Linked DNA regions of Homo sapiens: regions 1, 2, 4, 5, 6 and 7 are each linked to region 3. The links are contacts of gene promoters, found by promoter capture Hi-C in blood cells and fetal thymus (Javierre and others, 2016). All regions are on one chromosome and are shown on one strand. Each heading gives the region's core, a stretch centred on a gene start or on the middle of the fragment in contact. The rest is flanking DNA. Distances are from core to core; before and after follow the strand shown.

What was found. Contacts are between HindIII fragments. The CHiCAGO score rates a contact against its expected background, and 5 or more counts as called.
Region 1: a contact is called between a fragment that was not itself captured here and the fragment with the promoter of ADH5 in region 3, in 7 of 17 cell types (total B cells, fetal thymus, naive B cells and 4 more). The highest score is 7.1, in total B cells.
Region 2: a contact is called between a fragment that was not itself captured here and the fragment with the promoter of ADH5 in region 3, in 2 of 17 cell types (M0 macrophages and monocytes). The highest score is 6.5, in M0 macrophages.
Region 4: a contact is called between a fragment that was not itself captured here and the fragment with the promoter of ADH5 in region 3, in 2 of 17 cell types (naive CD8 T cells and fetal thymus). The highest score is 5.8, in naive CD8 T cells.
Region 5: a fragment that was not itself captured here is called in contact with the fragment with the promoter of ADH5 in region 3 in 12 of 17 cell types (total CD8 T cells, non-activated CD4 T cells, activated CD4 T cells and 9 more); the score reaches 13.5 in total CD8 T cells.
Region 6: a fragment that was not itself captured here is called in contact with the fragment with the promoter of ADH5 in region 3 in 1 of 17 cell types (activated CD4 T cells); the score reaches 5.3 in activated CD4 T cells.
Region 7: a fragment that was not itself captured here is called in contact with the fragment with the promoter of ADH5 in region 3 in 3 of 17 cell types (total CD4 T cells, non-activated CD4 T cells and activated CD4 T cells); the score reaches 10.1 in total CD4 T cells.

The regions. Positions count from the first base shown.
Region 1 is chr4:98,288,821-98,292,617 of GRCh38, reverse strand. All of the region lies in intron 1 of RAP1GDS1 (Rap1 GTPase-GDP dissociation stimulator 1), which reads right to left. Among named protein-coding and RNA genes, the nearest start is that of RAP1GDS1, 29 kb to the right of the region's middle. The HindIII fragment of the contact is 1,603 bases long and covers 1,067-2,669 here.
Region 2 is chr4:99,858,127-99,861,677 of GRCh38, reverse strand. It overlaps DAPP1 (dual adaptor of phosphotyrosine and 3-phosphoinositides 1), which reads right to left. Exons shown (of 9, transcript NM_014395.3): 5 at 53-100. Among named protein-coding and RNA genes, the nearest start is that of LAMTOR3, 35 kb to the left of the region's middle. The HindIII fragment of the contact is 2,692 bases long and covers 248-2,939 here.
Region 3 is chr4:99,087,337-99,090,868 of GRCh38, reverse strand. ADH5 (alcohol dehydrogenase 5 (class III), chi polypeptide) reads left to right here and starts at 2,081. Exons shown (of 9, transcript NM_000671.4): 1 at 2,081-2,180. The coding sequence starts at 2,169. It overlaps LOC100507053 (a long non-coding RNA gene), which reads right to left and starts at 2,012. Exons shown (of 10, transcript NR_037884.1): 1 at 1,585-2,012. RefSeq lists a silencer at 2,049-2,098 and a promoter at 883-2,136. The HindIII fragment of the contact is 7,789 bases long and covers 1-2,353 here.
Region 4 is chr4:99,930,880-99,934,481 of GRCh38, reverse strand. All of the region lies in intron 1 of DNAJB14 (DnaJ heat shock protein family (Hsp40) member B14), which reads left to right. Among named protein-coding and RNA genes, the nearest start is that of DNAJB14, 14 kb to the left of the region's middle. The HindIII fragment of the contact is 1,966 bases long and covers 460-2,425 here.
Region 5 is chr4:99,889,034-99,892,613 of GRCh38, reverse strand. It overlaps LAMTOR3 (late endosomal/lysosomal adaptor, MAPK and MTOR activator 3), which reads left to right. Exons shown (of 7, transcript NM_021970.4): 3 at 580-614. Among named protein-coding and RNA genes, the nearest start is that of LAMTOR3, 3.6 kb to the left of the region's middle. The HindIII fragment of the contact is 538 bases long and covers 1,930-2,467 here.
Region 6 is chr4:98,114,142-98,117,935 of GRCh38, reverse strand. All of the region lies in intron 3 of STPG2 (sperm tail PG-rich repeat containing 2), which reads left to right. Among named protein-coding and RNA genes, the nearest start is that of STPG2, 27 kb to the left of the region's middle. The HindIII fragment of the contact is 661 bases long and covers 1,736-2,396 here.
Region 7 is chr4:99,841,944-99,845,731 of GRCh38, reverse strand. The region is part of intron 3 of DAPP1 (dual adaptor of phosphotyrosine and 3-phosphoinositides 1); the gene reads right to left. Among named protein-coding and RNA genes, the nearest start is that of DAPP1, 27 kb to the right of the region's middle. The HindIII fragment of the contact is 3,832 bases long and covers 1-3,567 here.

The DNA.
Region 1 (3,797 bases), core at 619-3,118, 800 kb after region 3:
TCCTAACAAAAAAATTTAGCAAGAAGAATAGCATTGTTTTTTTTTTTTCTTTTATTATACTTTAAGTTCTGGCTTACATCTGCAGAACATACAGTTTTGTTACATAAACATGTGCCATGGTGGTTTGCTGCACCCATCAACCTATCACTTACATAAGGCATTGTTTTACATTTTTAGAAATTTCATCCAGGCCCGGTGGCTCATGCCTGTAATCCCATCACTTTGGGAGGCCAAGGTGGAAGGATCACTTGAGGCTAGGAGTTTGATACCGGCCCGGGCAACAAAGTGAGTCCTCTTCTCTAAGAAAAATAAAAATAAAAAAATTAACTGCATATGGTGGCATGTGCCTGTATTCCCAGCTACTCAGGAGGCTGCAGTGGGAGGATCACTTAAGCCTGAGGAGTTTGAGTCTACAGGGAGCTAGGATTGCTCCACTGCACTCTAACCTGGGTGGCAGAGCAAGACCCTATCTCTTAAAAAAAAAAAAGGAAAAAAAAAAAATCTCCATAATGTGGTTCAACAGAAGATGACTGGACTCTCGTATCTTCTTCTGTATTCAATCTTGGTTAATATGCTGTTTTGGTTTGAATAGATGAAGAAAATTTAGTCTCAATATATACGTAGTTGGAAAACACGTGAGTATTTTAACAGCCTTTTCAGATAATTGCGGATATTCACTGATATACTAAAACTGGACACCTGGCAGTTCCTTAAAGGTTAGTTGCCCTGCTAAGCCGAAACAATATGAAAGCTTCCATTTTCCAGAAGAGGAAAGATTTATCTGATTTATCTGATTAAGGCTGAGGACTACTGGACATGTATGGCTCAACCCCTTCTGCATTCCTGTTATTTTAGAAACAACAAGAATTTTCTGTTCTACACCTGTGGCTGTCCAGGTGTACAGTGACAAAATGAGTAAATATGTATAATTCAGCAGTAAATTACTAGTAATCCCATTGTGACTCTACAAATAGAGGCCTTAACTCTAGACTTTATTAATTTTAAAGCAGATATTTTAAATTCTAGCAGACGACTCATATGCTTATATCTCCAGTGGTTCTAAGCTTGGGTAAGAAACAGAGGATATTATTTTTGTACTCCTTCAAACCATGACAGTAAATTTCAGTAGTAAATCCTTAGCATCCAAATTACTTTTTGTGTAATTCCAGAGAGCTGTATTTTACATTTCCTTAAAAGCACTGAAATTGTTCTAATGAAAATTTGTCAGCCTCTGGCTGGTAATGAGGCAGTAAGTAGAGATAGAAATGGAGAAGTATTAACAAATAAAATAAAATTTTTTCTTAAAACAATTTCTTTCCTATATATCAACATATGGTCTAGTTCGTCTTGTGAAATATGTGACATCTTCAAAGGGTTAAAGCAAAGTTGACTTGGTCATTAAAATTCTGAGTCTCCCACTTCTTACCCACTCAATCGCTCCTTAAAACCTGATCTAACCAAGTCCTCTAAAAGCCTATCAAAATTACTCTGTCAAAGGTTTTAAATGATATCTTGACAAAGCCAATGAATTTTTCTCAATCCTCTTGTTTGATATCTCTGTAGCAATAGACAGTTTTTCCATTTCTGAAACACCTCTTAACTTAGAAACATCAGTCTAAACACTTGTTTTTGGTCTTCTTCAATAGATCTTCCTTCTCTATCTGCCCCTTTAATATTAGTGTGACCCCAGTTGTGCACAGAGCCTCTTCTCTTCCTGAATAATATATGCATGCCCTTCAGAATATTAGGATGGTATGCTCTTTCCTTCTGTCCTCCCTTCTTTTATTCAGCTGGACAGACCACTTGCTTTATGTCCCTATCAATATAAAGAATTACCACATTTTAGGCCTTGATACATTTGGATAAAACCTGATGCAACTTCTGGTAACCGTGAACAGCTAACTATCATTCCTCGCATTTCTCAAAAGTCTCTGTTAAAGACAAACAGCTATACTTTCCCACTAAAACCTTCAAACTTTGCCAAGCCTTTTTTTTCTTTTATCTTAGGCACCAGAGGCTCTTTATGCTCCAACCTCTCTTCTATAAACCAGAAACAAATTATTTACTGGTCTGTAAGTACTTGCTGCAATGGAAGAGTTTTCATAAGACCTAAATTTTTAGCTATCAGTTCCTTTCTTAACATCAATCTAAGAAAAACTAATGAGGAAAGTGATGCTGTTTTAATATTTAAATAATTTGACCATAAAAGTACTTAAGATCATCACCAACAACAAAGAATACACTTGACTGTGAAGAAAGGACTGTCCCAAAGAACAAATCTCAAGACAGTGTCATGTTAAACTAGGAAGTCATGAAATTCTTTATGTTATTTGTGGTGGCATTTTTCAGTTTATCTTCCTCACAATATTATTCAGAAATGGTAGCTTTATTTTCAAGGTTATTGGATCTAAAACTTCATACTTTTAAATGTTAATCAATTCTATCACTTTACTATATGCCAGTAAGTAGATACATGGGTATATAGATAGATATGTGTTTGTTATCTTTGGACAATTATACCATTGCTGATGATAAAACCGACAGGAGACAAGTACACAAGAACTGCTAACTGAGCTTGTAAAAGTTCAAGACATTTTTACCTCACTTCAAATGTCACTCAATTTTTTTCTGTATCTATTATTTTCACATAACTATCTAGTAACAAAGCTTTACTTTGAAAGCATCACTATCCACATCAAATCCAAAAAAAAAAATATTTCTGTGCTAATGTGGTTTTCAAGTACCTAGAATACAGCCAATGCATGAATGGAAGAATTTCAAGTTTATCTCAAAATGAATGGCATTAAGTCAATTTGGGGCACCTGGCTTAGCAGCTGGAAATAATAGCAATCTCTCTTGAATATTATGTTTTACTTATCTAAAGGGTTTAGTATCTGACAGAATGAAGCTATTTTTAAAAGCTTCTCTAATGAAGTAGGAATAGTAGTTTCTGTTAGCATGTCAAGTGGAAAGGACTGTGTTTAAAAATTATAATATTTTCAGTTTTACTATGTTGTATTTTCAGTTTCCTACTTTTCTTTCTTTTTTTTTTTTTTTTTTTTTGTTTACCAGAGCTGGTCCTAAACCGATCAGAAACTTTTACAACTCACATTATGCCATCTCCCATTACTTTCTCACACAACATCATGTGTGTCAGTCCCACCACATTATTGGCTTTTTCCCAAGCACACTTTCATTTTCACAATTGTGAGAATTAAATTCTTTTCTAAAATTCCTTTCTGTGCATTTTCCACATCTAGCATGGCTACTTACTTGGCGAAGTCAACTAATATGCCAAGTCTTGCATGAAGCTTTCTGTATTCCTGCAGTCAGAGGAACCTTCCTTTTCTAGGCTCCCACATTTTGTTTATACCTTGATAAACATGAAAGTTTCTATTTTTATATAGATTCTTTAATGTTAAATTTATTCCAAAAGATTTTAGAATTTTGTGATTGCTGAGAATTAAATAAGTTGTCCCATTTTCATGGGTAGGTGACATATCTACAGTAAAAAAAGGGCTACCTTGTATAATTATCACATATTCAGTCACCATTCAAATTATCTTACTTCTTAGCAAGCTAAAAAAGTTTAAGCACAAAAATCATGCCTCTTGATCTTGGAACATATCCCTGTGGATAAAGGGGGACTACTGTATTATAATCAAATTCTCCAGTTATTCCCCATTTCACTGACTTCTAATGATATGAAAAAAAATCATGCTTCTCTTCACTGCTGCTGCGGCTACAGATGCTTGCTGTTAAGATATAAACAGACACTTCTCAAAAGAAGACATTTA
Region 2 (3,551 bases), core at 344-2,843, 770 kb before region 3:
GACGTGTTCTCTTTTTTCTGTGGCTGGCATGAGCAAAACCACACTTCCTTACCTTGACCAGGCCTCCCTGTTTGGTGAGGTAACCTTCTTTGGTGCCCAGCTGAAAAAGAAAAGCACTGAGTGAAGACCAGAACTGTCACAACAGGACGTTTGTCCTTCCTTTCATGTCCTATTTTTAAATGAAGAATGTTTGCTTTTGATCTTTAAATTACTGTCTATCATTTTTCACCTAGGCACTTGAAAAGCTTCCATGTGTTGTGAGAGATTGTTTTCAGACTGGATCTACTGGCATCATTCTGTAGCTCCTAACTCCAGTTAGCAATTTGCAAACAATAAACGACATCATTTCACTTATAAAAGTCTGTGTTTGTCAAGGTGTGTCATGTGAAATCCAGCTGTTTGGATTGTTACAGGGTTATTAGCACATAAACACGCACACATCTACTGTCAATACGTTTGGGAGACTGGATTAAGAAAACTAAAAGGATGTTTTTACTTCAGGGCTTCCCAGAGTCTGTATTATGCTAATATACTTTGTAAATTTTTAAGAGGGAACCTTAGAAATAGCATTTTTACTATTTATTTTATCACATAATCCTCCTCCCCACCCCCACACTCTCTTGAGATCCATGTTCCAAAAAACAGACTGTCAGGAGCGTAGATTTATTTACACCTGATTTACCCAAAATGAATCTGAAATAAGAATGAGCCAGTTCTTTTAACTCATGTTGTCATTAATTCAAACGTAAAAATAATAGCACACACTTAGCTAACACCTACGAAATATAAGGGTGGAGAATTGTGTGAACAGAAATTTGCATAAGACAAGTAGCTTAACATCAAGAAATTTATCATTTCATAAATTCCACAAGAAATTCAATTCGTGGTAGAATATTTTGTTCAAATGTGATGTCATCATATGTCTTAGTAAGAAACAAAATTAACAAAAATTGGGAAGTGATTTGGTTGACACCAAGGTTCTTTCTATGGTAATTTCCAGAATATTTTTTTCCAAGGTGAATTTTCCCAACCAAATAAAAAGAGGAACAACCATCTCTACCACAATAAAAAGAGTTAAAGCAGGAAATAAGCAAACACTTCTTTTAAAATCTTATGATATAAAAGTAAGGATAAACTAACCAAATGTTCACTTAAATAATATTAATCAATATTGGTGAATTTGATATCTCATAATTGGTGTGATTTATTTTAACATTAAATAAATTGAATTGACTCAGTTGAATTCAGGTGTTATAGGAATGGCAAAAAGTAATTATTTTGGGCTGTTGCAGGTTAAAATCTGTAGAGGCAAAATAACTAGGAGTAAATTGTTGTATAAAAGATCCTGATAGAATTATTTACTAAAATCAAGCTAGGGAATAATCCCATCTTACCTCCACCCAAACAATGTACTATAAGTGTAGTATTCTTCTAAGGTTTTGATAGGTAAGCCAAAGGCTGCATGGGAAAGCAATGAGACTATTAATTTTATTCAGGGTCTCCAGATGTAAGAAAGTAAATAATTATAGAGCACATTTATCTTTAAAAATCTATGAACTGTAACAGAAAAGCTGTTTATAAGAGCCCCCATTGGGGTACCATCTAAATGTTCAAAAACAAAGGACTGTCCTTCCTGCCATCCTACTACCTACTTGCCTGCCAGCCTTAAATGAAGTCAGTAGCCAACACAGTTCAGGTGAAGCAAGGCAGGCATTGATGTGTGTGTGGAGGGCTTTCAAGCACCTTAGTACAGGGTGGTGGAGCCCAAGTAGGGCACAGGGAGCCTCTGTGTGGACACTGGCAGTGACAGTGGCAGCAGCAGCTGTGTGCGAGGCATTGAAGCCTGGCAGGGTGTGGAGGGCTTCTGCCTGAAGGGGTGGAGGTGGCAGCTACTGCACAGTTTCAGAGCCAAGTTGGGCTAGGTGGACATCTGTAGTGAGGGTGGGAGCAGCAGTGGCCTGGAACTGAGCATTGAAGCATGACTGGGTGGTTGGAGTGTCGGGGTAAGGGTTGAGTAGTAGAAACAGCAATGGGAGATTGCTTATATTCAATTGATCACCACATAAGTGTACTGAGGATGATAAGATCCATATTTTCTCACTGTGGGAGAAGGGAAAACACTAGAATGAACTTTGTGGTATTGGAAGCATTGTTGTGAACTCATGGATCGATGAATGAATCGACAGATAAATACAGATGTAAAAGTATATATGTGTACATATGTATATACATACATATTTTCCCAGCTCTGCTCACTGAGTGGGCTGGGAGAGTGACATCCTGATAACAATAAGCACATAGTACCTAGATGTCGATTTCTAGAGTACTATTCTGTGGAAAAAGAGCAGAGTTTCTTGGAGAAATAGCTGGTTCTAGAGCTGGGTACAAAGAAAGAACAAGATAAGTCTGGATCATCTTGCTATTCAGAAAGTAAGAAAGTTCTTAAAAGAATTTTGAGGCCAGGCCAGGCACGGAGGCTCACAACTATAATCCCAGCACTTTGGGAGGCTGAAGCATGAGCATTGCTTGCACCCAGGAGTTCGATACCAGCCTGGTTAAAATGGTGAAACCTTGACTCTACAAAAAAAAATAAAAAAATGAAAATACAAATATTAGCCAGGAGTGGTGGTACACACCTGTAGTCCCTGCTACTCAGGAGGCTGAGGAGGGAGAGTCACCTGAACCCAGGAGGTCGAGGCTTCATGAGCCGTGATCACACCACTGCACTCCAGCTTGGGAGACAGAGTGACGGAGTGACACACTGTCTCCAAAAAAAAAAAATTTTTTTTGAGGTCATATGAACACAGACACCACTTGAAAGGGCTCTTTCCCCGACTGGCCAAATCAGGGAAATTTTGAAGGATCAAAATAAATAATGATAGTCATGATTATAACCATTTGATATAAAAATGATTGAAAATTTTGAAGAATAAAAAGCTTTTCCTTACAGTAGAATGACAACCAATGAATGTAAAAAGGAATAAGAAAATCAGAGAGTCATCGTTTGGTAACAATCATAGTAATGATTAAAACAGCCAAGACACATCAGTAAATGCTAAAATTGGCAAGTAAAAATTTAATAAGTAACAGAATATTCTTATAGTCTCAAATAACCTCACCCCAAACATTTTTTAATAACAAAGGGAATATGGTGACTTTAGAGTGAAGAAACCTGGCAGACACCACTTAAGTAATCAAACACACCATTATGAGACAGATTGCAATTGTGTTCCATCTGAGAAGACACAGTGAGAAGCACAAACAAAGCATCACTTTTGTGGTATTTGTAGCCAACATGAAAAAACCTGTATCTAATCATGATTCAATATCATATAAACCAAAGTTGGGAAACTATTTACAAAATAACTGGTCTTTAATTTCAGATGTGTCAAAGTCACGAAATTAAGGAAAAACTGAGGAAGTGTTCCAAAGTGAAGAATCTTCCAGAGACAGGACAGATAAGTGCAACTTGTGCTTGAGGACTGGATCTTTTACTCTGACGGAACTTACTGAGAAAACTAGTGAAGCTTGAATGAGATCTGTGGATGAAA
Region 3 (3,532 bases), core at 832-3,331:
CCTTACATGTCAGACCAGAAACCTAAAGTCTTGCCTATTATTGTTAAACAAGGCACTACAAAAATGCAAGTGTCTCTTTCCAGAAAATAGACAATATATCTGCAATAGGGAAAAGAAAACTCTCTGCCAAGTCTTTTTTTTTTCCCACTAGAAATTGCTTGCTGCATTCCAAGCAGAAGTATTGACATACACAAAGGCCTGGAATCAAGAAAAAGCATAGTCCCTTTAAGGAACTACGAATGTTCCTTAAATGTTGGTGTGAAATTTGGCAGGAGAGCAGGAAATAAGGATAGAGGTATATACAGAAGGAAGTAATTCAGAGCCTGAGTGGCCTAAAGAGTTTGGATTTTATCCATTTGTTCTCCCTTGAATATTTTTAAATAGAAGAATGGTATTTATTTATTTATTTATTTATTTATTTATAGCCTAACTCATTCAAAAATTATTGAAGGAAAATAGGAAATGGCATTGATTGATGTTACGTTTTGGAAAGATCACTAACAGGGCATTCCTTTTTAAGTATTAGATTCAAGGGCCTGGCATCAAAGAAATCAGATGGGAGGCTCTTTCAGTAATCCTGTAAGAAATTATGAAAGCCTGAACTAATACAGCAGCAGTGGGGAGAGAGAGGCACAAGACCAGAGAGATATTTAGGGCTTGGTGACAAACTGAATGCAGGGACCGAGGGAGAGGGAGAAGTTGTGACTCTCATGTTTCTGGCTAGGGTAAGTATGTGGAGAGTGTCAACACACAGAGGAAAGAGTCCCTATAAGGAGAAAATATTAATAGGAGTTTTAGGAGTTGCATTCGATTGTGAGATATCCTAATGGAGACAGAAATCCAGTAGGCAGTTACATGTCCAAGTCTGGAGTTTAGGGGAGCCATCCTGATTGGAGATAATAATCTGGTAGTCATCTTTCCATAAATAGACGTTAAAAGCCAAAGTGTGAGTGAGAGAGTGGAGTGAAAGGACGGAAAGACTTTGGACAATCTTACCATATGTACCCGGAAAAGAGCCAAGAAAAAGACTGAAAGACAGAAAAGAGCAGTGTGTCTGACAGAGCTATTTTAACAAAATTCAGCGTTTACAACAGAGTTTAAGAGTAAACTGGCAGGCCAGGTGCGGTGGCTCATGCCCGTAATCCCAGCACTTTGGGAGGCTGAGGTGGGTGAATCACTTGAGGTTAGGAGTTCAAGACCAGACTGGCATACATGGTGAGACCAACCCCCTGCCCCCACTCCCAATCTCTACTAAAAATACAAAATTGAGCCAGCGTGGTGGCGTGTGCCTGTGATCCCAACTACTCAGGAGGCTGAGGCACGAGAATCACTTGAACCTAGGAGGCGGAGGTTGCAGTGACCCGAGATCGCGCCACTGCACTCCAGCCTGGGCGACAGTGCGAGACTCCGTCTCAAACAAACAAAGAAAGAGTAAACCGACAAATACTACATTCTCTCTCTCTACACTCTGGCCCACTCTTAACACAAAAAACTGTCCAGGATCAGGAGACTTTTTGTTCTCCTCATCTCCTCCTTCCAAAGTTCTCTGCCCACGTTCTACTGTCTCCCCAAAATCCTACCTACCCTTCAGGAACTGCTGGAATGGGAGCTTGGGAAGTTTCAGCAAACTCCTCTCTCCTCCTTTGTGGCCCCTTTATTCCCAAAGCTGTGTCCTCTCCCTATGACGAGTCCCTTGAGGGGCTGTATCTTACTCCTTGTGTCTCCAAGCACACATAATGTGTATTAGGGGAGGAAGCATTCGCCAGTGGAGCACAAAGCTGTTGCAGGTCTCTTACTGGTTCTCAGGCGCTTTCAGTGAAATTCCCGTTCCCTCACCGTCCACATCTGTAATTTGCAAGTCTTATCTACGATAACTGCTGTAAAGTTACACGGGGAAGCCCTTTCCCGACAAAAAAAACGAGTTCTGCAACAAGTCCGTCGGATTTTAGCAATGAAACCGGCGCCGTGCAGCCTCGCCGGCGAGTGCACCCTGGAACGCACAACTTAGCGGCACGCACCACAGCTCGAGCACCGCCCTTCCGGTTGGAGCCATTGCAAGCCCCCCCCACGCCCCGCCCCCCTCGCTAGGCGCTCGCCACGCCCATGCCTCCGTCGCTGCGCGGCCCACCCCGGATGTCAGCCCCCCGCGCCGACCAGAATCCGTGAACATGGCGAACGAGGTAGGGCCCGTTGAGCGGAGGGCCCTGAGTCCAAGGGAGGGAGTGCATGGCATGGGACTAGGCTGCTATCCTCGGGGGCGCGCGAGGCTCGGCGCCCAAGACGGGATCTGGCTCTTGGTTCTGAAACTGGGCCCCCAGCGAGCGGCTCAGAGGGGCAGAAAGAGAAGGAAGCTTTGTCTCGGCTCTTCAGTTGGGAAGCAGCTTTCTTTGCTGCTTCTGGGACAGTCGGAACGGGGTGGGGGGGTGGGAGAGCCGGAGAGTGGGGGGCAGGGGCTGGTCAGGTCGGTATCCCAGTGGAAATGGCTTAGGAGCGGCCACGCATTGCTTCTTACACGAAATTAAGTAACTCGCTCTGGGTCATTCTTGCAGCTTGCATACTTGGCAGAGCTGCAGCCAGATCCCGTGCTTCTAACTCCTAGGTTGCTTGTGTTGCATAATTGAGCCTACGCCTTAATTATTGTGCCTCCAAGGAGTGTATTTTGGAAAGACCCCTACGTCCCTTTCAGAAACATTTTCGAGCACTTAAATACCAAGAGATTTATATTCCCTCTAGTCCTCACGTAACAAACACCTCTGCGAGGTGTTATCCCCATCTTACCAAAAACTGAGGTTTGAGGTTGGTTGTGCTTGGTCACACCAACGATGGCGAGCTGGGATTCCGACCCAGGTCTGCTCCTCTATGACAAATTCATAAAATACAAATTAGACAGTAAAGAAAGGCAGAAATTACGAATAACATACTCAGTCTAAAGTTGCTGATTATTTTAATGTTTTGCAATTTTGGACATTTTCTAGTAAGACAAATGGCCTTAAACATATTGGAGTTTGAAAGAAATAAACTCTAAACAGTCTTTCAGACTTAAACTGGTAGTTGCTTTTCCTTATTACTGAGTGTCTTTATTCAGAGAAGGTGAAAGATTATAATTGTTACTATAGTTCAAATGTTGAAGTAGGGCCATTTCCCGCGGATTTAGAGTGGGGCTTTGTTTTGCTTAGAATTGTCAGTAAAAGGAAAAGGTTAGGCTCCATTAAGACATTTTTTAAAGGGGAGCAGGCCATCAAATTTAGTATTCTTGTTTCTTTGGATTCCTATGTTGCATAACTTAATTGTTAGTATTCTGAATCTGACTTGTGGAGTTGAAATTTATGGCACATTGAAATGAAAAAGGTTCTAATGCAGTGTCTGATTCTTTGTACTATGAGATTTAATATCTGCAATTTAATTTTAAAAACGATCATTTCCACATTTCCAACCTCACCAATTTACAGAGGCCATTTCCCTCCCCCCCCCCTCCCCCGCCAGTTCAGACGGAGTTTCGCTCTTTGTTTCCCAGGCTGGAGTGCGATAGCGC
Region 4 (3,602 bases), core at 193-2,692, 840 kb before region 3:
TATTGTTCTTTTATATCATGCATTATTTTTTAGTCTTTTCAGCTTGTTTTGAAGTATTAAAGTGTTCATCTGTTTTGTTAGCAAGTGTTTATGGTGTGTATTTATCGTCTTCAGAGGTTTAATTCATACTCATCCTTTTTTTCTTATAATTTTGTATCAGATTTGACTTCTGTCATTTTCTTTTACTCATTTTTATGTGCTGGTAAATACGTAGAGATCCTTCTGTTTTTGTGTAATGTTTAAAAATGTCACCTTGCTAAATGAGATCTTCTCATTCCTTTATCCTTCCCTACTTTTATCTGGAGTTTCTCTTTTCATTTTTTTTGTTTTCCCTGTCCTCTTCAGTTTGGGTCCTGTTCCCAGGAGTTTCTTCTTGGTGTGGCTTTGTTGTGGAAGAGAGCTTTGATTGATTATTTTTGAGGGCATGTAGTGACTAGAGTCTTCCATGCCTTTAAAGCTTTATTGTGGACCCGTGCACTTGTGTACTATTGTAGTAGGCAAAACTCATTCCTTTTTACACACTTTTCCCAGTTTTGCCTGTTGTGCTATATAGAGAGTCCCTGTTGGTTATTTTTATTTTTAATTTTTTTTTATGTTCTGTGGGCTGGCAAATGCCCCTGTATTATACTCCACTGCCCACACAGATCTTGTGGCAGTTGGTGGTTTTTCCCCACCTTATATTTTGGGATTTTGTGCATGAGGTTTTCTCTGACTTTATGAGGGAATTCGGAGAGATTTAAAATTTAAGCTGATGTCATAGCCTTTTTTCCAGAATTCCCACAAAAGTTTTTATGTCTAAATGTTGTGAACCACTACCTCCCTTAGACCATGCTGGTTTCCGTTCATTGCGATTGCAGACTAAATACAGACTATAGTTTAAAAATTGGCCAGGCGTGTGGCTCACGCCTGTAATCCCAGCACTTTGGGAGGCCAAGGCGGGTGGATCACTTGAAGTCAGGAGTTTGAGACCAGCCTGGCCAATATGGTGAAACCCCATCTCTACTAAAAAAAAAATCAAAAAATTAGCCAGGTGTCGGGGGCAGGTACCTGTAGTCCCAGTTACTCAGGAGGCTGAGACAGAATTGCCTGAACCCAGGAGACGGAGGTTGCAGTGAACCGAGATTATACCACTGCACTCCAGCCTGGCTCAGTCTCAAAAAAAAAAAAAAAAAAAAAAAGACTGTTTATGTTATATTTCTCATTAATAACTGATTAGATTGGTACCTAGTTGAGTGTGTGTATATATATACATACTTTATTGAGACATTATTGAGACATAATATTGAGAGTGTGTGTATATATATATACATGCTTTATTGAGACATAATTCACATACCATACAATTCACTCATTTCAATTATACCATTCAGTGTTTCTTTAGTATTTTAACAGAGCTGCACAACAATTATGGAAATCAATTTTAGAACATTTCCTTACTTCAAAAAGACACCTCATTACTCTTTAGCAGTCACTCCTCATTTATTCCCAGTTCCACCCTCCCCTGCACCCCCAGCTTTGGCAATGATTCATTTACTTTCTGTCCCTGTAGATTTGCCTGTTCTGTACATTTCATATAAACGGAACCGTATAGTATACCATCTTTTGTGACTGGAGTCTTTCACTTAGCATAATGTTTTCAAGGTCCATTCATGTTGTAGCACATATCAGTACTCTGTTTCTTTTTATTTTTGAAAATATTTCATTGTCTGGATATATCATTATCCATCAGTTGATAGATATTTGGTTGTTTGTATCTTTTTGCCATTGTGAATAATGTTGCAATGAACATTTGTGAATCAGTTTTTGTATATCATTTCTCTTGGATATGTACTTAGGAATGGGATTGTTGAGTCAAATGGTAACTATGTTTACTTTTTTAAAGAACTACTAGATGATTTTTTCAAAGTAGCAGCATCATTTTACATTCTCACTAGAAACTTATTAGGGTACCAATTTCTCCCCATCCTTCTCAACATTTGCTATTGTTCATCTTTTGGATGTGGGTTTGAAGTGATACTTCTCTTTGTGGTTTTGATTTTTATTTCCCTAATAGCTAATGATGTTGAGCAACTTTTTTTTTGTGCTTATTGACCATTTGTTTGTTTGTTTTGGAGAAATTGTCTATTCAGATCCTTCACCCGTTTTTTTAACCGGTGTTTTTGATCTTTTTATTACTGAACTGTAAGAATTCTTTATATATTCTGGATACTTTTTTTTGAAAATCAGGTATGTTATTTGTAAACATTTTTTTTTCCATTCTGTTGATTATAGCCTTTGAAGTACAAAAGTTTTAAATTTTGATAAAGCCCATTTTCTCTGTTTTCCTTTTATCACATTTACTTTTGTTTCTGTAGTTAAGAATATTTTGCCTAAATCAACATCATGAAGATTTACTTCTGTATTTTCTTCTAAGAGTTTTAAAGCTTTAGCTCTTACACTTAGATTCATGATCCATTCCGAGTTAATTTTTGTGTCCAGTGTGATGGAGTCCAAATTTATTCTTTTGCATGTGGATGGCTAGTTGTTGACCCACAAGTTCTGATATTTGGTGTTTTAATTTCTATTCAGTTCTAAGTATTTTGTAATTTCTATTGTAGTTATTTCTTTGATACACAAGCTGTCTAGATTTTTTTATTTTGTTTTTTCTTTTCCAACCCATTTATGATTTTTTTAGTTACATTTTTTGTAACTGATTTCTCATATAACTGTATTGTGCTCATAGATTGTGGTATATATATATATATATATGGTAATAATTCTCTGAGATTTGAAAAGGACCACTCTATGGTCTAGCGATAATGTGGGCCTGTGAGAAAGAGATATTCACTAGTTGGGTATAATGTTATATCTCTTAGATAAAGCTTATAAATTTGATGTCTAAGTCATCTGTATCCTCAATGATTTCTTAAAATTTACCTTATATCAGTTACTGATTGAAATGTGTTAAAATCCATAATGATGATGGATTTCCCTTTTTCTCCATTAGTTTTGTTAATGTTTTTTATGTTTAGTTTTAACTTTTATTATGGAAAGTTTTAAGCACACACAAAAGGAGAAAAAAATAGTATAATCACTCCCAATCACTCACCTGTCTTGAACCATTATGAGTATATATGGCCAACCTTATTTCATTCACATTCTTTCTACCCCTACTTTTATGTTTCTCCTCCCCAGATTATTAAAAAGCAAATCCTTGATAAGAATTATTTTTTACACTCATTGTTCACATTTACTCTCATATTTACCACACTATTTGCTTACCATTCCTTTTTCCATCTCAGCCTATCTGTAAATGTTTTCCTTTTGCCTGAAATGTATATATTACAGTATCCTCTAGTGAAAATCTTTTAGTGATAAATTTTCTATTTGTTGGAAAATGTTTTTATCTTGTGCACTTTCTGGGAAATTAGTGCATAACTCAAGTTAGCAATTTATTTTTTCTGAGCATTTGGATGATAATATTCCAGTATCTTGGCTCCCATTGTTGCTATTGAGAATTAAACAGGAAGTCTAAATTTCTGTTACTTTGTGGATGATCTCATTGGCTACTTTAAAGACTTACCTCTTTTTCTTTGGTAATCTGCAGTGTCACATGATATGAC
Region 5 (3,580 bases), core at 949-3,448, 800 kb before region 3:
ATAATAATATGCCTTACACTGTTTCATTATTTGTTGAGTAGGTGAGTTCAACAAATAATGAAACAATGGAAGGCATATTTTTATAATGTGATAGTCACGTGAGACAACAGTCTTACAGAGGTCATATCACCTTACCCAAGACCATTAAGATGATGGTGGAAAGTCTATCTTTGAACATGGAAAGGTGTTTATAACGTCTTCTCAAGTGAACACAATAGCAACAGGATGTAAAACACTAGTATGAAAATTATGATGTAATTTTATGGCTAAAATGTGTTTCCCATTTCTAGGTATGCTAATCCATGCATCTTCTCAATAAACTTTTAACAACACTTTTATGATGTAGGTTCTATATTAGCCCTATTCAACAAATAATGAAATAAGCTTAGCGAAAAAAGGTTGGTTAACTTACTCCAAGTTGCGTGACTAGTAAACATCCAAATCAGACAGAGAAAGATAAAACACAGCAAGAAAGGTTATGAATGATAACTGAAGTTCCTTAAAATTTGGATAGGACAGGATCTAGAAAACAGTGGAAGGCCTATTATTACAACATTATTTTTTAATGCTCTCTTTCAGGACCTAAAGCGATTCTTGTATAAAAAGTTACCAAGGTAAGAAATTTTTAATTTGTTATTGAATAAATTCTATATGCCATATGTTAATTTTATGAAGCATTTTGTCTGTATTTTCCATGTTGTGAAGTATCTCTGAGATTTCCTTTAATATGAATATTTTTTGCCAGCCTCACGTCCTCTGGAAAATTTTCGTCACAACCGCTTTCCTCATTTATGTCAATAAGTTTGCCTTCACTGAGTTCTCTGTGTATCTAGAGCGATAGTGTCAGCATTCCCTTGGTCATCTGTTTCTTCTATAATTCTTTACTTTCTATTTGAAATTCAGCATTTCTATTTGAAATTTCAGCATTATTACTTTTCATTTCTTTGCTGTATTTCGTCTTTGTTGGCCAGTTTCCTCTTTTTATTATCTCTTTTTCTAAATGTCACATACTTTATCATTGGGAGACAAGGAGGTACAAAACTACATGCTTTGCTATCTCTGCATGAGCTGCATAACAGATGCACAGTGACCAACCATCAACATACTTTGAAAGAAATGATGTGGCTGGTTACTGATGACAGTGTGCATCTGTTAATTACATAATTATTTATGTAGTGATTTGTGGACTAAAGAGTTAGAAAAGTTTATACTTTACGTAGTTATTGAGGTATTATGCCATGCTAACTAAAATTTGACCTGTGCTCTTCTGCAGGGAGTGGTATTACTTAACCATAGTAACTAAAATGTGCATATTGGAACTATGCAAAATGAGGGCTTTCTGTGTTTTTCTGTAGTTACCTTAGCGTAATGAAAGGGCGCTCAAATTGGGACGGAGAGATACCCCACTACGCTGGTGATATGATGAAATAGTTAATAGTACATAGTTAATTCACTTAGAAGTCTTAGTGATTTACAGTCCTCTTTTGAGTGTTAGCATCTCTTATTGAAGAAACAGCAAAATTGCATTCAATGTTCTTAAGTTATAAACCGACCAGAAAGATACTCATTAGTCACCTGGAGATCTAATAAAGCAATAATTGATTCTAATTACATCATCTGTGATTATAAGCAATAAAAATGTTTCAGACAATGGGGATCTCATTTTAACTATTAAGTGTGCTCTCAAAATCATAATAGCGTGTGACACTGGATATGATGAAGCTGTCTGTGTAAAGGAATTAGAGAATAATACCAAAAGTATTTATTATATTACTGAGTAGTTCTAATGTTGATCAAAAATAGTTGGAAAGTAAATGCTTGCTTCTTCTTTGAATTTAGATGTCTCTTATCTTTTAACAAAAGGGGAAATATCAGGTTGTTGTGCTTATCCAAGAAATAAATTCAGTTAAAGGATATTTGTTAAAAGCTTTATGAAAATCTTTCATAATGGCAGGAAAGGTATTAGTACTGTCAGTTTTTTTTTTAATAATGAAAAAAAGCCAGTTCAACTCATTATATCATTTATTGAAAATAGGCTTATTGCATCCCAGAACAGTAATAATGAAGAAATAATAATGTTTTGAACATTTATGAAGAATAGTAGAATATACGCTTTGATTTGTTGCTAGATGTATGGGTTTGGATGCAGGCATCCTGCTTCAGAGCCATGGATTCATGCTTTTAACTGTTGTACCTCAGTGCCTCTCAGTAACAAAGTCAGCCAGCTACGGATACTAATGGAATGTGTGTTTTTGTGCGTTTTTTGAATTCTCTGCAAAATATCGTTCTTGTATTTGCAATTTAAAATCTGGTTGTGACCCAAAGCAGTCTCAGGCTTTAATAATCCCACTTTGTATGTTTTAAAACAACCAAATATTTCATAATTATGTGTATAAAACTAAATCCGATGTCTTTGATTAGTAATGCAACATTTGTTTTTAGAAAAAAATGGTTGTTTTAGTAAGCTTAAGGTTTAGATTTCTTCAGAATATTTCACAAAATTTAATTCATTTCTTCTAAAAGTGTAGTATCTCTTAATGAGCCAGTTATTTTTAATTATTAGTAAATTCTATTTATATTACTCTTTGCGCATTGTATGTAGAATTGAAAACAGCTTTTATATTTGTGACCTGATTTCTAAAATTATATACTTAAGAGTGTAAGTAATTTTTCTACTTTCTTGATTCATTTCTCTGTGAAGTCCATCAAAAAGAAAGTCCTTTTATTTTCTTTGGAGCATTAGTTGTATTTAAAGTAATTTCCATGGAAATTTAAAAAAAGAAGCTACCTGTGGTGGCACTAATTTTTCTAAACATTTTTGTGGTCCTCTTTTTACCTGCTTTTTAATTTATTTTGGGGGTAAGTAGTACATTCACAGAGTTCAGATTCAAGACTTAACTGAAGAACATAGAGTGAGAAGCTGCCCATCCTTCCTCTCCAGCCACATGCACAGTTTCCCCTCAAAGAGGCACCCACCATTACCTACAGAGATATTTTATGTACCTATGAGCAGACATGTATATACACGTATTTATACACACAACATACACATATGCCTGCATATTTTGGTACATAATTTATTGCTTCTTCTATACACTGTTCTAAACTGTGTATTTTTTCACTTAAGAATGTAACTTTGAGAGTAATCTTTCCTGGTACATAGAGAACTTCCTCTTTCTCATGGCTGCAGAGTATTCCAGAGTATTCCTTTGTAGGTGTATATCATAACTTACCTTGTCCTTCTTGATGGACAGTTGGATTTGTAATGCTTTACTGTTTCAAATGATGTTGCTTTTGGTAACTGCACAAAATAATTGGCTTATGTACAAATATCTGTAGTATATGTTTTATATAACCTAGTTTTTAACTTAGAAGAATATATTTATTTTATGTATTAATCTTTTTGTTGTTGTTGTTGAGACAGACTCTCGTTCTGTCACCCAGGCTGGGAGTGCAGTGGCGCAATCTTGGCTCACTGCAACCCAGGTTCAATCGATTCTTATGCCTCAGTCTCCCAAGTAGCTGGGATTACAGACAAGCACCACCACACCCAGCTAATTTTTGTGTTTTTGGCTGAGAC
Region 6 (3,794 bases), core at 817-3,316, 970 kb after region 3:
AGGAAGCCAAGGCATTAGACTTCTTAGATAAAATTTTTAAATTAGCTATTTTAAATATGTTCAAAGAAATAAAGCAAACTATGTCTGAAGAACTAAATGGAAGTATAAGAATAGTGCCTTACCCAATAGAGAGCATCAATAAAGAGATAGAAATTATAAAAACAAACCGAGTAGAAATCTGGATTTGAAAATTACAATAATGGAAATGAAAAACTTTCTAGAGGAGCCCAAAAGAAAATTTGAATTGGCTGAAGAAAGAATCAGTTAACTTGAAGACATGTCAATTGATATTATGCAGTCTGATGAACAGAAAGAAAATAGGATGAAGAAGAGTATTCAGAGCCTCAGAGATCTAGGGGACACTGTCGAGTATACCAACATACACATAATGGGAATCCCAGAAGCGGAGGAGAAAGAGGAAGGAGAAAAGAGAATATTTGAAGAAATCATGGCTGAAAACATCCCAAATTTGATGAAAAAACATTACAGAAAGAAGAAGCTCAACAAACTCTAAGTAAGATTAATGCAAAGAGATGCACACCTAGACACATCACAGTCAAGCTGTTGAAAGCCAAAGACAAAAAGAAAATCTTGAGGGCAGCAAGAAAAAAGTGACATATCATATAGAAGGAATCCTCCAAAAGGTTAATAGAAATCATGAGGTCAGAGGGAGGGGGATGACTTATTCAAAGTGTTGAAAAAACAGACTGCCAATCAAGAATTCCAGAATCAGCAAAGCTATTCCTTGAAAATAAAGGAGAAATTAAGACATTTTCAGATAAATGGAAGCTGACAGAATTTGTTGCTGGCACACCCCCTAAAAGAAATACCAAATGGAGTCTTCAGGCTGAAATGAAATGTTATCAGACAATAACTCAAATTCACATAAATAATTAAAGAACAATGATAAAGGTAAATATATAAGCCAGTATTATTTAATTTTTGATTTTTAAGTTTTTAGAAGAATTCCTATTGATTATGGAACAAACTAGAAATAATACATTTTGTGTTTAAATACAGTAGTAGGCAGATATTTTAAGACTAATGGATTGTTTCATGCTATAAAACTTTTGAAGAACCAGATTAATTCTGGTAACATGAAAAGTAAGGATAATATAAGTTACATGTTTCCTTTTCTAACCATAAGAATTCCCATTTCTTTCTGGCCATGGGAGTTTTTGTCTCAAGAATATTTCATTCTCTCTCTCTATGACATACCTGGTCTTCTAGGCCTTGACTGTCCCATCATCCTATTAATAACAATGTGACAATTAATCTTCATTAAGATATTTAAGTATCTTAAATATTTGAGTAAGATATTCTTATGTGAACAATAGGTTCAATTCTGTAAAAACTCCAGTGAAATGGTCTTATGATTTGATATTAGGATATTCTCCCCAAGGTGACGGACAAGTTATGCAAAGAAGTGTAATGGAGCCAGACTTCCTGGTTATGTGTCCTGACTCTACCACTTAATAGTTATTAGTCCTTGGCCAAGTTACTTAATCTTTGTGCTCAGTTTCCTTACCTAAAATATCCTGAGAAAAATAACTATGGTCTAACATATTGGAATAAGTATTCTTCACAATTAGTCATAGATTCTTGGCTTTAGCTTAATAATTCCCTAATCACTCATAACTTACATCTCAAAATGTAATTCTTGCTTTAAGCTATTTTTTTTTTGTTTCAGAATAATGTGTCATCTATTAGAAGGCCACAATGATGCCTCCAAGCTTCCCTGCATGTATAAAATCCTTTCCCCACATGAATAAGCATTACTTAGACATATAAAACTTGATTACTTCCTGGCTAAATTATTATTTATAGAAATAAGGAAGAAGAAGAAGACATTTATTTGATGACCTAATTTATTTGATGGCCTAATTTAATAAGTATTGAATCAATACAACTTATTATTTATTTATTGGAATAAAAATCTAGATGTAATTTAAAAACATATAAAAACGTAGTTTTCTGTATCAGTTAAAGACATAGTTCATAATATTCAAGAAGATTCAGCAAAGTTTAATACAAACGGAATTGTGATATTTTTTGAAATCCTCATCTTGTATTTGAGAGAACTAGAGATAGCGTGGCAAAGCTCAGTAGCTGAAGGCTTTATTTTCTTCTGTTTCTCCTGCAGAAAAACACAGGTTCTTCACAAACTACTGCCAAATTGATACTGTAATAATGTTAATTCAAATCTTATCTGAATTTTCGATAATTCTGGGTAACTCTTTGCTTGCTTTTTGAAATAATATTTAATACTATATGTGGGTTTAGTTTCCAGAGGTGCATATTGATAGAAAATTAAGAAAATAATCCAATAGATGGGTAATTATTGTGATTCTTTCTTAACTGGTGAATCACATCTGCTGAAGCTGTCTAATAAAGCTTAAATACAGAATTAAGAGTTGTGTAAGACTCTAAGTGACAAATGTTAAACTTTAGCTAAATTTAATTTGTGAAGAGAAATTCTACAAAAAAGTTATTTTATATAACATTTTGAATGATAAAGTTTAGCTTCTTTCTTCTTTTAGAAGAGCCCAGGTAACTATTAGAAATCTATTTTTCAGAGGTGTATTTCACAAGCAAAGTTTGTGATTGGAATGATGATACTGACATATTTGCTAATGATAACATGCTGGGAACTACCTGTGTGCTGCCACACTGGAAAACAGTTCATTAGTGTTTGAATTATTGCACTTTGGGCCTTTTAATTCTTCACAAATTCTATTTCCATATTTAATTATGGAAAGACATGGGGGAAAGTTGCATAGCCCCATCTTCATTTATTTAATTGTCAGTGAGAGTGGCAGTTAGTAATTCTTCTTCAAATTATAATATAGCATTTACTTAAAATAATGCAGTTCCATGCTGAGTTTGCTTCAATTAAGTCATATTTTATTTGCTAATGATTTTCAAAATTGACAGTGACCTTGAAGTTGGTATTGCCAACACTTCTTGACATAAAAGAAACTGTAATTTAGAGATAAGAGTGCATCAATTTATCCTTTGTTTTCTGTCTGTATTTTTAAAAGCCTTTTAAATTTCTGATTCAACATCTACCTGAGTACCGCAGAGGTTAATGAGTTAAGTACTTGTCAATTCATGTGGTTTAAATGAAATGGATATTATTGTAGACACACACACACACACACACACACACAAAAAAAAAAAAATGGATATTATTGTGGGGTCTTAAATTGTGTGTGTGTGCACATGTACACATACATAATCTTTCCTCCTACTGGATTACTATTAGAATTGTGAAACAATTGAATCATAAAATCTCAATAATGTAAATTCACTTAAAGAAAGCTTCTTCAATAGAATCCTGCTCAAGGTCTTGAATCCTTGCATTAAAAGAGTTAATACAAAACCTTAACATGATTTTAGGCTATAAAAATGTGATGTAAAAGATGACATCAAAATGCTGTATTTTAAAATACTGATTTTTTGACAAATGTATAGGCTATAGTAAATCAACATATTAGATATGTTCTTGTGTGAAATATATACAATGTCTAAAATATCCAGCATGACTATATTATATTAGAATGTAGTTTCACATTTTGTACTTCACTGTCTGTTATGGTCATAATATAGTAGAAAAAAATATGCACAATTATGATGTTCTGCTTTATTTCTGAGTTAAAAATAAACTCTAACATAAATGGGAAATTTCATTCTTTCTGCCATCAAAACTGCCTATGTACTTTAAAATCCATGGTTGTATTAGGTAATTGCATTTGAAAGGTGATCTGGAGCACTTACTTTAGCAAGAGAAAGTG
Region 7 (3,788 bases), core at 402-2,901, 760 kb before region 3:
TGAAATAGCAATTCATGTAAATAAAATGGGAATAACAATAAATACAAAGGCAGAAGTTAAAGTTGATTCACACTCTTTAGAACAATAGGTTTACTTCATGTACCAAACATGTTATTGTAGACTTTAAAGAAGAGATAAAGAAGAGACTGAGGGATAGGACTAAGACATGTGTTACAGCCCTGCCATATCCTACAATCATTCTACTACATTATTGTAGCAGAAATTCTTCCAAATTTATTAAAGGCCATGCTGTGCCATGGCAGCAATGTATTGCAGTGTCGCTGTAGGACCAATTTCAAGAGATAGCAAGGTGCCTGGAAAGCATCTATGCTTCAGGACCAGGTTAGCCCAGATTCCAATCTCAGCTCTGAGTTCTTCCAAATCCATTTAAGGCCACACTGTACCATGGCAACAATGTACTGTTATTGTGGGACCAGTTTCAAAAGATAGCAAGGTGCATGGAAAGCATCTATGCTTTAGAACCAGATTAGCCCAGATTCCAATCTCAGCCCTGATGTTTACCAGCAGTGAAAACTTGGGCAAGTGACTTAAAACCTCTGAGTTTTCCTTTCCTCATCTGAAAATAGGACCGTTGTATGCATTATTGTGGGTGGCTGAGATGAAATAAGTTGATGTAGGTGAATGCCTGGAACCTAGCAAACACTCTAAAAATGTTGGCTTAATTCCCTTCCTCAGCTGCTTTTTCCTTTTTCGAATAAAACTCATCTATAAACTGAGAACATTTTGTATTTTTGGCAAACATCCAAGGAAGTTTGGAAAAATTCTAAGTTGTCACTAGTTGTTTTCTGAAGAACCACCCAATTCTCAAATTAAAATTAATTTTAACCACATTATTTAAAAATATCACCTGGGTGGTGTCACAAAACAAAATAATAATAGCGGTAGCTGTCGTCAAAAGATTGGGAATCCCCATATCAAAACAAAAAGAGAAATGGAGATTTGACATTTACCAAAAAACCAGATGAGATCTTTAAAATTGGGAACCAATTATTATAAAGGGTAAGCACAAACATAGAACTTGACTTGTATTATATTTTTTCATGCCTGTTAGGTGATTACAGTCACAATACAATGTAATAAATTATACATGGCAATTTCATGTTAAGAATTATTGAAACATAAACAAAAGGTAATGGTAAAAGTAATTTTTTGTTCTAATCATATTTAGACATTTAAGCATAAAGATAAATGCCGTCTACATTTTCAAGACTATATATATGAAACTTAGCTAATTACAAGAGGCTACGACAAAATTAATAATGGACCAAACATATTTATACTAATAAAAAAGTTTCTCAAATTTTCAAGTCTATTTGAGTTTAGTTTAGAGTTCATGCACAGACATGAATATGTTTTATTTGATATCCTACTATTGAGACAGAAAAACTCCAACCGGCCTGCCCACTGAGGTGAAGCCTTAGGAAGTTCGTGTCCTTTGCAGTGGGGAGGAGCCTGGCCCCTCCTCTTCCTGTGAGGAACATAGAATTCAAACTGCTGGGCAGGAAGCGCTCTAGCTTCCCTGTTTCCCTCTTTTCTTTCTTTTCATCCAATAAAACCCTGCTTCACTCACCCTTCAAACCGTCTGCGAGCCTAAATTTTTGTGGCCGTGGGATGGAGAGGGACCCGATCTTTAGCTGAACTAAGGAAAAGTCCTGCAACACTATCACAAATGAAAGGCAAATTCTGAATTTAATCATCACTGAGCATACATGCAACACAAAATATCATTTCAAATTATGTTTTTATAAACTTTGAAAGTTAAAATTGTCACAAGTTTGCTAGTTTTGATGTTGCCATGCAAAAAACTGCAATGCAGGCATTGGAAATGGGGCATCCAGCATGACATATTGTGGAAATGATCAGTACTTATTTTTTCAGGTCCTGGGACATAGCAGGAAGCAAAGCTGACAAAAGTCCCTTTCTTCATGGAGTTCACACACTAGTGTGGAAAAAAAGGTATTTTTTTAAAAAACATAAGTGAATTATAGATGTCAGAAGGTAAAAGGGCCATTGAGAAAAATAAAGCAAGAGAGTACATTGTATATCTCTATCATGTACTTGGGAAATTATTAGGTTTTGAGAATTGGAAGTATCTTAAGAGTGTTTATGGGTATTGATAAAAAGAAATTAGAGTGAACAGAAACTTTAATGGAGATTAGAGAGATGAAATAGAGATTATGGCAAGGGAAAGGGAAATTATCATAAAATACTCTTAAAGTTGTCAAGAGGCTTAGATGTTGCTTAGGAAATCCTTGCTTTTCAGATTAGCAAACAGAAATCCTAAAAGTGTAAAGAGTAGGGAATAGAAAAAAAAGATATCTTAAAATAGCATTAATCCCCTTAGGTCAACACTTTTATCTATTTTGAGTGCAAAAATGTTCTTACGACCCAAAATCAAATATTCTGGGTTTCACTCTACTGAAGGCATTATATATAACTGCAAGGCAAAAGTGTAAAGTTTTGGCTATTTGGATATCATTTCTGTTGCCCTCAAAGGTAATACCACTTGTGCCAGTAGATAAATGTATTATAAGAAAGTCACTCTTTAATAAACTTACCCTCTAGACCCTGCAGGGTGAGGCTGGGCCTGGGTGGGGTCTGGCTGAGAGCAGTGGCCTGAAATATCCAATTCTAGTCCTTGTCATTCTGGTAATCTGAAGTTGAGAGCCCTGGGAGGGGCTTGTCCATTGTGTGGACAAATGCTTTTCCTGGTGATGTTAATCAAACATAAGCTATAAGAAATATCTGTACTTCTGGCGTGAACCCGGGAGGCGGAGCTTGCAGTGGGCCGAGATCGCGCCACTGCACTCCAGCCTGGGCGACAGAGCGAGACTCCGTCTCAAAAAAAAAAAAAAAAAGAAAGAAATATCTGTACTTCATCTGAAGGTGAACATGAAATCGTTAGCCTGAAGATCTTCTGATCACTGGGAGCCAATACTAGGAGCCCATGCTTAAATGAACAAGAAGAAAAGGCCTATTTTTAGAAGGTGGCATGTCAGTTTCCATTCACCATTCTTTATAGTCTGCAATGCTGACTCCGTAACCTTGAGGAATTTCTGGGCTTACAAGTCATCATGACTTGAGCACATTATCTTGTTTCCCAAGGCCTATTACTCCCAGAGGGGCAAGATTTGAACACTCATCTGTCATGGGTTTTGCCTGTTGTTCCTAGCCCTGATGGCTTTCCCTTCATCTGGCTGGGACAGATAAGAGGAATAAAGCTGGTGGACTCTAACTCAAGGGCTGGAAGCCAGCAAGTCAAGTGCATATCCATCAGCACGAGGGGCCGAAAGCAGGAATTCAAACAGCAGCAAATTCTTCATTGGATAATGAATAGAACAGAGGAGAGGCAGTGGAGAGGATAAAAATATTAGGTTCCTGAGTTATATTGTAATAAATAAAATGGCAATTGTAGTCAAGATAATAATACAGCAGGTTTGAGTTTTAGAGAAACTACTGTAGAAGTCTGGATGACAAATCCTTACAATCCCTAATGCATCAATCATAAGGCTTCTTTACTCAGAACAGTGTATTTACAAGGAAGCTTATCATTGTCCCAAATGCAATATCAAAACATCTTTATTTTGGCGCATCCTTAGGTGATCCTCTTGCCTGATGATTGGATCAGTGCCAGAAAGGTTCAACCAGAAAGCACTGCCTTCACTTTGATCTTAAATGTTTTGAAATCTGCCAGTAGGCAGAATATGTATCTTTTCCCTAACTTGGAGAAGGCCCAGGAAGGAGCACAGGGAATGATCAAAGAAGTT